2 separate regions of the Homo sapiens genome follow, and region 1 is linked to region 2. The links are contacts of gene promoters, found by promoter capture Hi-C in blood cells and fetal thymus (Javierre and others, 2016). All regions are on one chromosome and are shown on one strand. Each heading gives the region's core, a stretch centred on a gene start or on the middle of the fragment in contact. The rest is flanking DNA. Distances are from core to core; before and after follow the strand shown.

The links. The method cuts DNA at HindIII sites, captures the fragments that hold promoters and counts their contacts. A CHiCAGO score of 5 or more calls a contact.
Region 1: a contact is called between the fragment with the promoter of RFX2 here and the fragment with the promoter of SH2D3A in region 2, in 1 of 17 cell types (naive B cells). The highest score is 5.2, in naive B cells.

The regions. Positions count from the first base shown.
Region 1 is chr19:6,104,455-6,111,755 of GRCh38, forward strand. RFX2 (regulatory factor X2) reads right to left here and starts at 6,046. Exons shown (of 18, transcript NM_000635.4): 1 at 5,939-6,046. RefSeq lists an enhancer at 4,560-5,060 and a silencer at 5,908-6,367. The HindIII fragment of the contact is 2,952 bases long and covers 4,103-7,054 here.
Region 2 is chr19:6,765,574-6,772,658 of GRCh38, forward strand. SH2D3A (SH2 domain containing 3A) reads right to left here and starts at 1,862. Exons shown (of 10, transcript NM_005490.3): 1 at 1,814-1,862. RefSeq lists an enhancer at 1-252 and silencers at 2,341-2,400, 6,954-7,085. The HindIII fragment of the contact is 16,777 bases long and covers 1-7,085 here.

The DNA of each region.
Region 1 (7,301 bases), core at 4,796-7,295, 660 kb before region 2:
GCTACTCGGGAGGCTGAGGCAGGAGAATGGCCTGAACCTGGGAGGTGGAGCTTGCAGTGAGCTGAGATGGTGCCACTGCACTCCAGCCTGGGCAACAGAGTGAGACTCCATCTCAAAAAAAAAAAAAAAATTTTTAAGGGCAGGGTGTCGCTATGTTGCCCAGGCTGGTCTCAAACTCCTGGGTTCAAGCGATCCTCCTGCCCTAGCCTCCCAGGTAGCTGAGATTGCAGGTGTGAGCCACCACACCCAATGCAGCTCTCAACTCTTCATTTCTACATATGCTTTCCCCATAAGTGTCAAGGAAACCATTTGTTTATTCATTTCACAAATATTTCTCAATTGCCTACTCAGCACCAAAATTCTTCTCAGCCCTGGGGATATAGAAGTTAATAAAACAGCTCATGCCTGTAATCCCAGCACTTTGGGAGGCCGAGGTGGGCAGATCATGAGGTCAGGAGATCGAGACCATCTTGGCCAGCATGGTGAAACCCTGTCTCTACTAAAAATACAACAATTAGCTGAGCGTTGTGGCACGTGCCTGTAATCCCAGCTACTCAGGAGGCTGAGGCAGAAAAATTGCTTGAACCTGGGTGTCAGAGGTTGCAGTGAGCCGAGATTGCACCACTACACTCCAGCCTGGTGACAGAGTGAGACTCCGTCTCACAAAAAAAAAAAAAAAAGAAGTTAATAAAACAGAAGTTCCTGCCCTTACTGAGCTGACATTCTAACAAGAGGACAGTGATAATACAATAAATACGTATAACTTATGGTGTGTTATATAGGAATAAATGCTAAGGAGACAGAGAAAGCAGGGAAGGAGGCTGAGAGCACCCATTCTCAAGTGGGTGGCCTGGTGACATCTGAGAAAAGGCCTGAAGAAAGTCGGAGAGCCAGCCCTCCAAATACCTGGGCAAAGAGCTTTCCAGGCAGAGCTGGAATGAGCTTCCAGAGGCCAGCAGGGTGGAAGTGCAGTGAGGGAAGGCATCTAGCTTGGCGATGAGGTCAAAGAGGTATTAGGCTTGGCGGGGAGTGGAGTTAGGGGTGACTTTGGCTTTTGCTGCAGATGAGATGGGAGCCATCGGAGGGTTTCGAGCTGAGGGGTATGAAGTAGAACTTAACATGACGCCGCCTCTCCCAGGGTTAACAGGCCCCGTCTGGCTGCTGGGCTGAGAGACTGCCGAGCACCAGTGGTGGAATCATCCGGGCTAGATGCTGGTGGCTGGGACCAGAGGGGCTGGCAGTGGAGGTGGCGAGGCATGGTCAGGTTCTGGGGAACTACTGAAGGTGGAGTCAACAGGATTTGCTGATGGCTTGGGAGAGAGGAGTCAAGGACAGTCCTGAGGTTTGGCCTGAGTAATGGGAAGAAGTGAGTTGATATGTACCAACGAGTTTGGGGGGTGCTTTGGGAGGAGTAGATCTGGGGGGACTATGACAGGCTCAGCTTGGCCACCTTAAGTTTAAGGTGCCTGTCAGAATCCACCTGGATGTACCCAGCAGGCAGCTGGATAGATGTTTTCTGCAGAGAAGAGCTTAGAATCCTAAGCCAGTCCAGAGCTTCCCAGGCTCCAGTTCCCTATAGGCCTGTTAGGGCCTCTCTCTGGACCTTTTGCCACTCCTCCTTCACCTACCCTTATCCCTTTCGCCCACTTCATTCTGGGTCTTCCCCTATATTTTTTTTCCTGGGAGAATCCTTTTGCTGATCTTAGAGTTTCCAAGAAGCAAGTAGGTGGTTTTCAGTTTTTTCTCTAATTCCCAGTGTATATTCCATCGGCCTGCCCATCCATCCATCCATCCATCCATCCATCCATCCATCCAACAAAATAAGACCTTTCACTACACCAGGCATATGTCTACATGAGAGAACATGAGAACATGACCAGCAGAGGAGCTAATTGCCATTTAAATTCTAGAGACGGAGTCAAAACATCTTTTTAAAAAATACATAAGCCCACAACCCCTTACAACAATACTGAAATCCAGGAAACTCTGAAAACTGGCAATTTTTTTGTAAATTTGGCATGGACTCACTTGGTGACAAAAGCTGGCCTGAATTGACATGAAGTTACTTATGGTCCTTCTCTTCCCCACTTCGGGTGAATATTCATATAGTTCAGTTCAGAAATACGGCTGTGTTTAGTGGGAATGCCCTGGACCCATAGTTTCAGAGACAGGCCCACAGACTCGCATTCTCCTCCCCTGCAGTTTAGTGAGTGTCCTGACAAGCAAGATGAGAACTTCCCTTGGTTTTTCAAAAGTTTCCTATTTTACAAGTAAGTGGGTACCTATGGGGGTATACTGTTTAAATGTTTGTAAATATTTAAATATATTTGTTTTATATTTAACATATATTTATATTTAAATTTTATTATATTTAAATATATAAGTATATATTATATATACATGTTTTAATATTTCAATATATATTTTAAAAATATTTAAATATTTAATAAATAGATGTCAACTTTAGAAACAAATATATATTATAAGATGTGGTTCCTTCTGGCCCCAGCATTTTATGAGCAAAACAATCACTAGCTACTATAAAAATCCACAGGTGCCGGCCGGGCGCGGTGGCTCACGCCTATAATCCCAGCACTTTGGGAGGCCAAGGTGGGCGGATCACATGGTCAGGAGATCGAGACCATCCTGGCTAACACAGTGAAACCCCGTCTCTACTAAAAAATACGAAAAATTAGCCGGGCGTGGTGGCAGGCGCCTGTAGTCCCAGCTATTCGGGAGGCTGAGGCAGGAGAATGGTGTAAACCTCGGGGGTGGAGCTTGCAGTGAGCCGAGATGGTGCCACTGCACTCCAGCCTGGGAGACAGAGCAAGACTCTGTCTCAAACAAACAAACAAACAAACAAAAATCCACAGGTGCAGGGGCCGGGTTTGGTGGCTTACGCCTGTAATCCCAGCACTTTGGGAGGCCAAGGCGGTTGGATCATTTGAGGTCAAGAGTTTGAGACTAGCCTGGCCAACATAGTGAAACCCCATCCCTACTAAAAATACAAAAATTAGCCGGGTGTGGGGGTGCATGCCTGTAATCCCAGCTATTCAGGAGGCTGAGACAGGTGAATCCCTTGAGCCTGGGAGGTGCATGTTAAGGTGAGCTGAGATCTTGCCACTGCACTCCAGTCTGGGTGACAGAGTGAGACCCTGTCTCAAAAAAAAAAAAAAAAAAAAAAAAAAAATCCACAGGTGCATTTAAAATTTTGACTCGATTATAATATTAAAGTTAAGCCAATTTAATATTTTTATTAATTATAATGCTAATGTAAAACTAAACAATTAGATCTAAGGAATAAGACCCAGATAAACAATTCCCCAGCACCTGCATTTCTGGTGGACAGAACCATCCTTAGCAGTACTTCAATGATAAACAATGTTAAAAGATGAGTATTTACATTTAAATATACATCACATACACATTATATTATATTGTTGTATTTAAATATACATCACACATACATTAAGGTAATGCGTGCCCTTCACGCAGAAAGCAAAGATCAAGTGATTTCAAAGAACTTGTCCTGTTATTGAGGTAATAACTGTCTCTCTCTTCTCAGATTCAGTGGTTTATAAGAAAGAACTTAAAAAACTAAAATATTTCAGTATTGCTTTTCCTGCAGGAGCAAACTATTTCAGAACTCATTCCCAACCCAAGTCCGTTGAACTGTCACAGAATCACAGAACAGTGATCTTTCCCATCATACATTATAAGTTGCCTTCCGTACCACGCCTGTTGATGAAGAAGCCCTAGTAATTCAAGAACTTAAATTCTTTTCCTAGGGAGGTTACCATAAACTCTTACTTCTCTGGTCAGAGTAGGTGAGTTGTCGTTTCTAAGGTTATTTTAGAGTCAGTTCAAGTCTTTAAACTAGAGCAGGAGAAAGCACAGATGCCCCCCTCCTCCTTATCCAGAAGGACGGGAGGTAAGGATCTTTCCATAAGCAAACAATGTTTCAGGGCACGATGTAAAAAGATAAAATACATGTCAACAATATGTACAGGCAAAAATTTTTTTAAAAAGTCTTTGTTGTTTTGTGTCATTATTATTATTACTGTTACTTTGTTGGGGAACTCTTAGTTGAAACAGAGAATGAAGCTTGTACAAGGTTTGATACAGAGATGAAGCTGACTGAGAGGGAAAAGAACTCATCGAAGCCTGCGCTGGTCATTTATGATACAAAGCAGGAAAATAATTGCAGGGAGGCACAATGCTAACAACACCCCAAAGTAGGAATGAAGCCTGGGGGGGCGGGGGTAAGGCAGCCAGCCCTGGGTCCCGAGCTCCATCTTGCCCTCTCCCCTCCCCATTCTTGCCGCACAACCAGGAGGTTAAAATAGGAAGATGAACCGCGCCGGCAGCCGCCAGAATGGCCCGGGCGCTTGGGGCCCTCGGGGGCCCTTGAAATAGCCACTAGGATCGGGAAATCCAACTTTCCCAGCGGTGCAGCGAGGAAAACCAAAAGGAACGGAGCCGGAGGCTGGTGGCGAGGGAGCGCGGAGGCTTCTCGGAGGGAGGAAAAAGAAAGAAATGAGCATTTGGGGTGTGAGTGAGTGTGTGTGTGTGAGTGTGTGTGTGCGCCCGCGAGCGCGCTGGTGGGCGGTGGGGGCAGGGGGTGGAGTTTAAATCCACAAACACACACACGCACTCGCACTACCTCGGAGAAAATGCCTGGAGCAGTTTAGGTTCTTTAACAAAATAAATAAATTGAAAAAAAAAAAAAGTTTCACTCGCGTTGGTGAAACTTTTCTCCCTTCCAGATCAGTCCTAAGAGGAGAGCTGCGGACGTGCGGAGGGGCATCTTGGGGGCACGTGGAAAGACTGGCGGACGCACGAACCCCTATACTCAGGAATATGGGGTCACAGGGAGAAGGGGAGGGGGTGTCCGAGGCGACCTGAACGCGAGGATTTGGGGCAAAAAGGTGAGAAACAGTTCCCGGGGAAGCTCGCTCGGGGAGTTTGGGATGAAAAGGTGAGAAGGGCAAGAGGGGTTCTCCCCAGGGCAGACGCACCAGCTTTTAGTTAAGGAATGAGAAAAAGGTTCCAGGGGTGCCCCCAAATTCAGTATGTCTGGGAGTCCATTAAAAAGGGGGTCCCCGGGACAAGTCAGATCTAGGAATTTGGGGTAAAAATGAGAAGGGAGTCTTCGAGGTCCCCCCGATGCAAGAAGTTTGCGACTAAGAGTGACAGAAGGGCTCTGGGGTCACCCCAATTTCGGAGGTTTGGGGAGTAAAGTAAGAAGAGGGCCCCAGGTGGCCCCAATTCAGGGAGTTTGAGGGTATGAGTAAAAGAGGGGTCCCCGGGTGTCCCCATCTCAGAGATCTGGGGAGTAAAAGTGAGGAGAGGGTCCCCAAGCGCCCCCAATTCAGAGAATTCGAGGGTTTGAGTAAAAGAAGGGTCCCTGGGTGCCCCCAACTCAGAGATCTGGGGAGTAAACGTGAGAAGAGGGTCCCCTGGCGCCCCCAATTCAGAAAATTCGAGGGTATGAGTAAAAGAGGGGTCCTTGGGTGCCCCCAACTCAGAGATCTAGGGGGTTAAGGTGAGAAGAGGGTCCCCAAGCGCCCCCAATTCAGGGAGTTTGAGGAGTTTGAGAGACGTTCCCGGGGCGCCCCCAACTCAGCGAGTTTGAAGGTAAGCGTGAGAAAGGGGTCCCCGGACGCCCCAACCTCAGGAAGTTTTGTAAAAAGTGAGGCGACGGCACCGCACCTCCCCCGCGTTCAGTCAATAAGGAAAGTGGGGACGTCGCCAGGGTCCCCCCAAACTCCGCCGCGCGCGCGGACGGGGTGGCGGAGGCGGGTCCCGCGGGCGCACCACCCGGACGTTTGGGGTGAGCGGCGGGGACGTGCTGCCCGCCCCCCGGCCCCCGAACGGGGTCCCCGCCGCCCCCCACACTCCCCGGCCGGGCTGGGCCCGGGGCGGTCGCATCGGTCACCTGGAGTTCGGGCCGGGAGTTCGGGCAGCGGCTCCCGCGGCGGCGGCAGCGGCTGCTGCGTGTTGGTCCCCGTTGGTAAGTAACAGTCTCCACGGCTACAGTCTCTATGGCGGCGGCGGTGGCGGCGGCGGCCGCTCCTCCTCCGGCTCCCGCCGCCAGCCAGCCTCGCGCAGCCCGCCCGCCCGACGGGGCGGGGCGTTGTTACCGGCAACGGTTACCAGGCTCCGCGCCCCACCTTCCTAACGGCCCGCCCACGCTCGCCTCCAACGGGCCCCCAAGAGGGCGGGGCGCGAGACCCTACGGCGTTCCATTGGCTGTCTGCAGAGTCTGTCGGAAGGAGGAGGCGTTCCCCCTTGAAAAAGAGTGCGAGACTCGGCCAATGGCCGCGAAGAGGGGCGGGTCTTGGCGGGAGGCGCGCGCGGCTCAGAGGGTTGGCGAACCGGTCGCGCGCGCGGCGCCGTGGGTTGGTGGCGCGTTTTGGGAAAGTCCAGTTTTAGGGGACCCAAGGGACTCCGTTTACCCCACAGGAGGAGTGTGGGACATGTGGGAACAGTCTGATCAGGGGTCAGCAAACTCTCGCTCGCCGCCTGTTTTTCACGGACCCCCAGCTGAAAATTTAAATATATATATATTTTTTACATGGTTAAAAGAAACTATCGGCCGGGCGCGGTGGCTCACGCCTGTAATCCCAGCACTTTGGGAGGCTAAGGCGGGTGGATCACGGAGTCAGGAGATCGAGACCATCCTGACTAACACGGTGAAACCCCGTCTCTACTAAAAATACAAAAAATTAGCCGGGCGTGGTGGCAGGCGCCTGTAGTCCCAGCTACTTGGGAGGCTGAGGCAGGAGAATGGTGCGAACCTGGGAGGCGGAGCTTGCAGTGAGCCGAGATCGCACCACTGCACTCCAGCCTGGGCGACAGAGCGAGACTCCGTCTCAAAAAAAAAAAAAAGAAAGAAAGAAAAAAAAAGAAACTATCAAAAGGAGCTTTTGTGGGGTGTGAACCTGATAGGAGACTCTCTTTTATTGTATTGGGCCCAGTATTTTGAACTAGTTTAAAGATTGGCAAACTGCGGCCTGCGGGTCAAATTCTGCCTGCTTGGGTTTGTAAATAAAGCTTTATTGGAACATAGCCACGCCCATTTCCTTGAACAGCTTGGAAGGCTGCTTTGACACTACAGGGGCGGAGTGGAGTAGTTGCGCAAAGACGGCATGTCCCACGCGAAGCCTAAGATATTTACTATACGGTCCTTTACAGAAAATGTTTGCCAAACTCACCAGCCCTCCTCTCAAGCTGGTAGATTCAGCTACGAGTAGGACAGAAACAGACAGATCCTCATAGAACTTTTATTCTAGTGAGGG
Region 2 (7,085 bases), core at 612-3,111:
CCCGTCTCTACTAAAAATACAAAAATTAGCCAGGCATGGTGGCGTGTGCCTGTAGTCCCAGCTACTCAGGAGGCTGAGGAGAGAGAATCGCTTGAATCCAGGAGGCAGACCCTGCAGTGAACCGAGATCACACCACTGCACTCCAGCCTGGGTGACAGAGCAAGACTCCGTCTCAAAAAAAAAAAAAAAAAAAAGAATGTAACCCCAGGGTTAAGATTTTTAAAAGGTCACATTTTGTAGCAATGTCAGCAAACAGCAATGTTGCCTTTGCAGATCCTTCTATTTCGGAGCCCATACATGTGGTTATCATGATGATTGAATTTGGATCTCAGACATTTTGGTAGTTTCCCGATAATCTCACAGGCCTCAGGGCCAGTGTGTCTCAGGTGTCTGGTGGGGGAGATTTCTCTGGATGGTCCAGAAGAAGATAATCTGCTTCTTACTCTCCTGCAAGCTCTCCCTGCAGCCCTGCAAAGTCTTCTGGTGGGGTCTGCAGAGAAATTCCTGCCTCCTGAGTCAGCAGGAAGTTCCCAGACCAGCCCTAGGTGGCTTTAGGGGAGGAGCGCTGGGCAGGGAGCCAGCTGCCAGTGCCGCATACCTGAAGCCAGGTGTGTCTTTGCAATGCCTGCGCACTTCCTGTTTGTCACCTGGACCAGGGCTAGCCTCGGTCGCAGAGTTTCCCAACCCCAAGTTCCTGTCTTGTGTCTCCCTTAGTGAGAGTGAAGTTGAGTCAATGGCAAGGTTCTGGTTAGTTTGAGGACACAGGGTGGCCATAGGTCAGCCAAAGGCCAACTAAGCCATCTCCTGCCTCTGAGTCCTTTGGGATCATTTATTCGGGCACGGAAGAGAAGAAACGGGCAGAATCAGGAATCAGACCAAGCATAGAGAGAGGAGAGAGGGGATTATTCATGTTCCAGTTGGATCATAAACATGTGTCCACGTGTGGGGAGGACGTGGAGGGTGGGAACCACCAGCACAGGCAACACAAACACAGATGTAGGCAGGACTCGCTTTTGACGTTGGACGACCATTGCTGGAGCACTTGCTGTGCACCAGGCTCTGTTCTAGGACCTAGAGATACAGTGACTAAGGAGATTAAAGCTCGGCACCACCCTGCCCTCCAGAGCTTGCAGTCGGCTGCGCAAGACAGACTGCAAACGAGCACAAGATGAATGGAGAAGACAGACCATTTCTAAGAGTTATCAATGAAAGTGATAAGCCAGGGAGATGTGATAGAGGAGGCTGGACAGGACAGCCTCTCCTATAAAGTGACATTGGAACTGAGACCTCAGTACAGAAGGAGGCAGTTAGGCAAAGATTTGGAGGAGTCGCCTGGGTGAGGGGTACAGTAAGGGTAAAGGCCTGGAGCTGAGATGGACTTGCTTTTTACATTTTACATCATCAAGGCGGCTGGTGTAGCCGGAATACGATGAGGAAGGAGTAGATAGGAGGGCAATGAGGTTGGAGAGATCAGGAGGAGAGACTAGGCAAAAACTAGTGGACTTTGAATTTTAATCTCTATGACCCAAGGGTTTTAAGTGAAGGAGGGGCCCGATCTGATTCGCCGTTTAAGAGGATCACTCAGGCAAAAATGGAAACAATGGCTTTCTGTGCTGCACAGGAAATACACTTAGAGAGGCACGCCCAGGTGAGCCCGAGCACACCGACACGCGTAACGCACAGCGACCCTCTCATTCGCGAGGCGACCTCTTCTACCCCAGATCCTCCCTGCGAGCCGGTGACCCCACCTGGAAAGAGAGGACTCCCCATCCCAATAATCCTGGTTCTGGATCTGCCCTGGGGCTCCACTCACCTGGGCAGGACCCGCGGGGCTCCCACGAGGCTGGGTCCAGGCGGAAGCTGAGGCTCCGCGGCTCCGGGCTGCTGTCACCCCCGCCCTCCACCTTGCCACCGCCCCAGCCTTCCCAGACCACACCTAGTGGGAACTCAGCCCAGTTACCTGACCACACCTCCTGCAGACCCCGCCCCCTGCGGGCCCCGCCTCAAACTAACTTCCCAGGCCCTTGCTCCGCCCCCTTAAAACCATTTTTTTTGCTACTAGCCACGCCTCCTTCTGCATCGCACCGCTTTCTCCATAGACCCCGCCCACTAGGGGAGCACCACGCATCCTTTCCTGCCAGTGGCCCCTCCCCTTGTATATAGCCACGACCACCGCCGAATGACTACGCCCACCCGCAGCCACCTCCTTCTCAGCCCCGCCCCTTAGGGCAATAGAAGAAATTTCATCCCAACGTTCCCGCCCCTTAGAACCCTGCCCCTCCCTTCCACCCAGGCGGCCCCAAGCACCCATGGCCCTTTGGGACCAGGGCGGGGTGGAGTGGGGTGCCTCTCTCCCCTCCCCGCCAAGGCTCCGGGTCAGGGCAGGGCAACTCCCTCGGGCTCTTACGCCAGGCTGGGGTAGCTGCGGCAGCTGTGACGTAAGGAGGGGTACGCTTCCTCCAGACCGCCCTCCCGGATTTTCCGGAAAGAAGCCCCATTTAGGTGGCGGGTTTTGTGGAGAGACGTCCGGGAAAACGCGACAGCTTCCTTCAGTGACAGCACGCTGGAGCGGGGCGGGACTTTGGTGGAGGTGGAAGGCAAATCATTCAGGTGGTTTCCCAGGTGGGAAGAAGGGTGGGGGGGACTTCCATCGTGATGCCTGGAGACGAACAAGAGAAAAGGTGACAGGGACCTAGTGCAAGAGAGAGGACTCTTTGGCCACGTTTATTGATGAGTTCCTCATATTAACATCAGTCTTGTCTTGTAGAGACAGGGTCTTGCTATATTGCCCAGGCCGGAGTGCAGTGGTGATCATAGCTCACTGTAGCCTCAACCTCCTGGGCTTAAGCTATCCTCCCGCTTCAGCCTTCCAAGCAGCTGAGACTAAAGGTGCACACCACCACACCCAGCTGATTTTATTTTATTTTTTGTAGATGTGGCGTCTTACTATGCTGCCCAGGCTCTGGAACTCCTGGGCTCATGCGAACTTCCTGCCTTGGCCTCCCAGAGCGCTGAGATTACAAGCAAGCATGAACCACTGTGCTTGGCCCCAGTAACCACAGTCTTAAAAGCAGTAGCAGCAGCTAACATTTATTGAGCACTTACTGTACACAAGGGCTGTTCTGTCAACTTGCCTTTATTTTATTTTATTTTATTTTTTGAGATGGAGTTTCACTCTCGTTGCCCAGACTGGAGTGCAGTGGCAGCAGTCTCAGCTCACTGCAACCTCCACCTCCCCGGTTCAAGCGATTCTCCGGCTGTAGACTCCCGAGTAGCTGGGATTACAGGCTAATTTTTGTATTTTTAGTAGAGATGGGGTCTCGGCCAGACTGGTCTCAAACTCCTGACCTCATGTGATCCACCTGCCTCGGCCTCCCAAAGTGCTGGGGTTACAGGCATGAGGCCTCTATTTTAATTTTCAAACAGACCACCCTGTAAGGGTGGTAGGTAGTATTTTCATCACTTCCATTTTCCAGATGGAGAAACTGAGGCACAGGGCAACTAAACCATTTGCCCAAGTTAACCTGGCTTGTAAGTGGTAGAGGCGAAATTCAAACCCGGAGCTCTGGAGCTTTATCCTGTCTGCCTCCTTTTCAATCTTCGCATGCCCACTTTCTCCACGATGCTGCTTTGCGGTGAAAGTTACTCACCCACCATTTTACAGATGAGGAAATTGAGGCCTAGAGGGCCAACGATGCTTGGGGATGAAAAGTTTTGATGCCTGTAGGTTGCAAAGCAGGGAATTTCCAGACTGGGCTCCCCCGACTGGCCCTGGCAAATATGGAAGAGACTCCAGGCTCAAGAGGGGAAGAAAGTTTCTTCCTTATCCCTCACCGGTCTGGTATTGGTACAGTCAGAGGGTAGGGGCATGTTCAGGGAAGGGGTCTAGCGCCTCCTCGTGGTTATAATAATTTAAAAAGAGGGCCCAGCACTTTGGGAGGCCGAGGTGGGCAGATCACCTGAGGTCAGGAGTTCCAGACCAGCCTGACCAACATGGTGAAACCCTGTCTCCACTAAATACAAAATTAGCTGGGTGTGGTGGAATGCACCTGTAATCCCAGCTACTGGGGAGGCTGAGGAAGGAGAATCACTTGAACCTGGGAGGCGGAGGTTGCTGTGAGCAGATTAGCTGTGTGTGGTGGCATGCACCTGTAATCCCGGCTACTAGGGAGGCTGAGGAAGGAGAATCACTTGAACCTGGGAGGCAGAGGTTGCTGTGGGCAGAGATTGCACCATTGCACTCTAGCCTGGGCAACCAGAGTGAAACTTTCTCCTAAGAATAATAATAACGATAATTTAAAAAGAAACTCCATGATGAGGGCCACGTATTAGGTGGACGGGGGAGGGCCTGCTTACACTCTACTGGGGTGGAAGCTAGGGATGGGGGCAGAGAGACCTAATCTCATGAAGATGATTTCAGCTAATGATAAGGTAATGGCCGGGAAGCCAGTAAATGTTTGTTGAATGAGTTAATGAAAGACACTATTGGGCCTGGCACAGTGGCTCGTGCCTGTAATCCCAGCACTTTGGGAGGCTGAGGCAGGTGGATCACTTGAGGCCAGGAGTTTGAGACCAGCCTGGGCCACATGGCGAAACCCTGTCTCTACTGAAAATACAAAAATTTAGCCACGCATGGTGACACCTATAATCCCAGCTACTCGGGAGGCTGAGGCAGGAGAATCACTTGAATCTGGGAGGCAGAGGTTGCAATGAGCCGAGATTGCGCCACTACACTCCAGCCTGGTCCATAGAGCAAGACAAAAAAAAAAAAAAAAAAAGACACTATTGTAGTCTATAAGGAGAGGGATGATGGTGGCTTGGATTTGGGTGGTGACCATGGACATGGTGATAAAGGGATGGATTTGGGATAAATGTCAGGTGCAGTCAATAGAGCTTTCAATTATTTATTCATTCAACAGGTATTTAAGGGGCATGCCTATGTGTCAGGTGCTGCATAAGAGAGGGGTCAGTAGTGAACCAAAGAAACATAAATTCTTGAACAGACAATAAAGAAACAATGATGAGCGGGTGCCATGGCCCACGTCTGTAATCCCAGTACTTTGGGAAGCCGAGGTGGGAGGATTGCTTGAGGCCAGGAGTTCAAGACCAGCCTGGGCAACATAGTAAAAGCCCCTCTCTGCAAAAAAATTTAAAATTAGCCAGGCACAGTGGCACAAGCCTGTAGTTCCAGCTACTTGGGAGGCTGAGGCGGGAGGATCACTTGAGCCCAGGAGTTTGAGGCTGCAGTGAGCTATGATCATGCCACTGAACTCCAGCCTGGATGACAGAAGAAAGAGCCTGGGCACAGTGACTCAAGCCTGTAATCCCAGCACTTTGGAAGACCAAGGCGGGCAGATCACTTGAGGTCAGGAGTTTGAGACCAGCCTGGCCAACATGCTGAAACCCTGTCTCTGTGAAAATACAAAAATTACCTGGGCATGGTGGCAGGTGCCAGTAATCCCAGCTGCCTGGGAGGCTGAGGTCAGGGAAAACCTGGGAGGCAGAGCTTGCAGTGAGCTGAGATCATGCCACTGCACTCCAGCCTGGGTGACAGAATGAGACCCTGTCAAAAAAAAAAAAAAAAAAAAAAAAAAAAAGCCGGGCGCGGTGGCTCACGCCTGTAATCCCAGCACTTTGGGAGGCTGAGGCAGGTGGATCACCTGAGGTCAGGAGTTCGAGACCAGCCTGACCAACATGGAGAAACCCTGTCTCTACTAAAAATACAAAATTAGCTGGGCGTGGTGATGCATGCCCGTAATCTCAGCTACTTGGGAAGCTGAGACAGGAGAATCGCTTGAACCCAGGAGGCAGAGGTTGTGGTGAGCTGATCACACCACTGCACTCTAGCCTGGGCAACGAGAGTGAAACTCCGTCTCAAAAGAAAAAAAAAGAAGAAAGAAGCCTGGCGCGGTGGCTCACGCCTGTAATCCCAGCACTTTGGGAGGCTGAGGCGGGCGGATCATGAGATCGGGAGATCGAGACCACGATGAAACCCTGTCTCTACTAAAAATACAAAAAATTAGCCAGACGCGGTGGCGGACGCCTGTAGTCCCAGCTACTCAGGAGGCTGAGGCAGGAGAATGGCGTGAACCCGGGAAGCGGAGCTTGCAGTGAACTGAGATTGCGCCACCGCACTCCAGCCTGGGTGACAGAGTGAGACTCCGTCTCAAAAAAAAAAAAAGAAGAAAGAAACAAAGAGAGAAAGAAAGGAAAGAAAGAAAGGAAGGAAGGAAGGAAGGAAGGAAGGAAGGAAGAAAGGAAGGGAGGGAAAGAGGGAGAGAAAGGAAGGAAGGAAAAAAATAACTTAAAAAATCAGATTTGTTGGACAAAGATCAGGGCTTAACCTAGGGAGGTGGGTAGAGCTAATGGAATGCGGAAAAGGCTGTGATTTGAAATGAGGGGATTTAGGAAGACCTCATGAGAAGGTAGCATTTGAGCAAAGACATGTAGGGGTGAGGGAGCTAGCCATGAAGTTGCTTAAGGTGGAGGACACAGCCCGTGCAAAGGCCCTGGGGCAGGGCCGTATGTTCCTGGCATGTTGGAGGAAGAGCGAAGAGGCCCGTGTGGCTGGAGCACAGTGAAGAGGGGGAGAGAGGGAGTGGGGAGGGCAGGGAGGGAACTGGGCAATTCAAGCAGGGTTTTGTGGGCCTTGGGGAGGACTTGGGCTTGTCCCTGGAGGAAAGTGGGAGCCATAGAGAGTTGTGGGCAGAAGAAGGGTGTGCCCTGACTCAGATGCTCACAGGCAACCTCTGGTGGTGGCTGCAGGGAGGACAGACTGTGGGGTACGGGGGCTGGAGTCAGAAGACCAGCTGAGTGATGACGGGGCTGGACCAGACAGAGGAGGGGGTGAGAAGTGGGTGAATTCTGGGTATATTTCAGAGTGTCACTGCCGCCGTCTGCATATGGAGGAAGCTCACCCATCTCATAGTCTAGCTGGCCTGACTCCCCCAGCCCCCCAACTCCCCATGCCCAGGCCTGTGTCGAGTGGGCGGAAGAAAGAGATGTCAGATTCTGCATGGAAGGCGTGGGGTGGGGCTGGGCTGCAGGTGCTCCCCCAGCTCCCCCCCGCCCCATGGCTCCTCCTC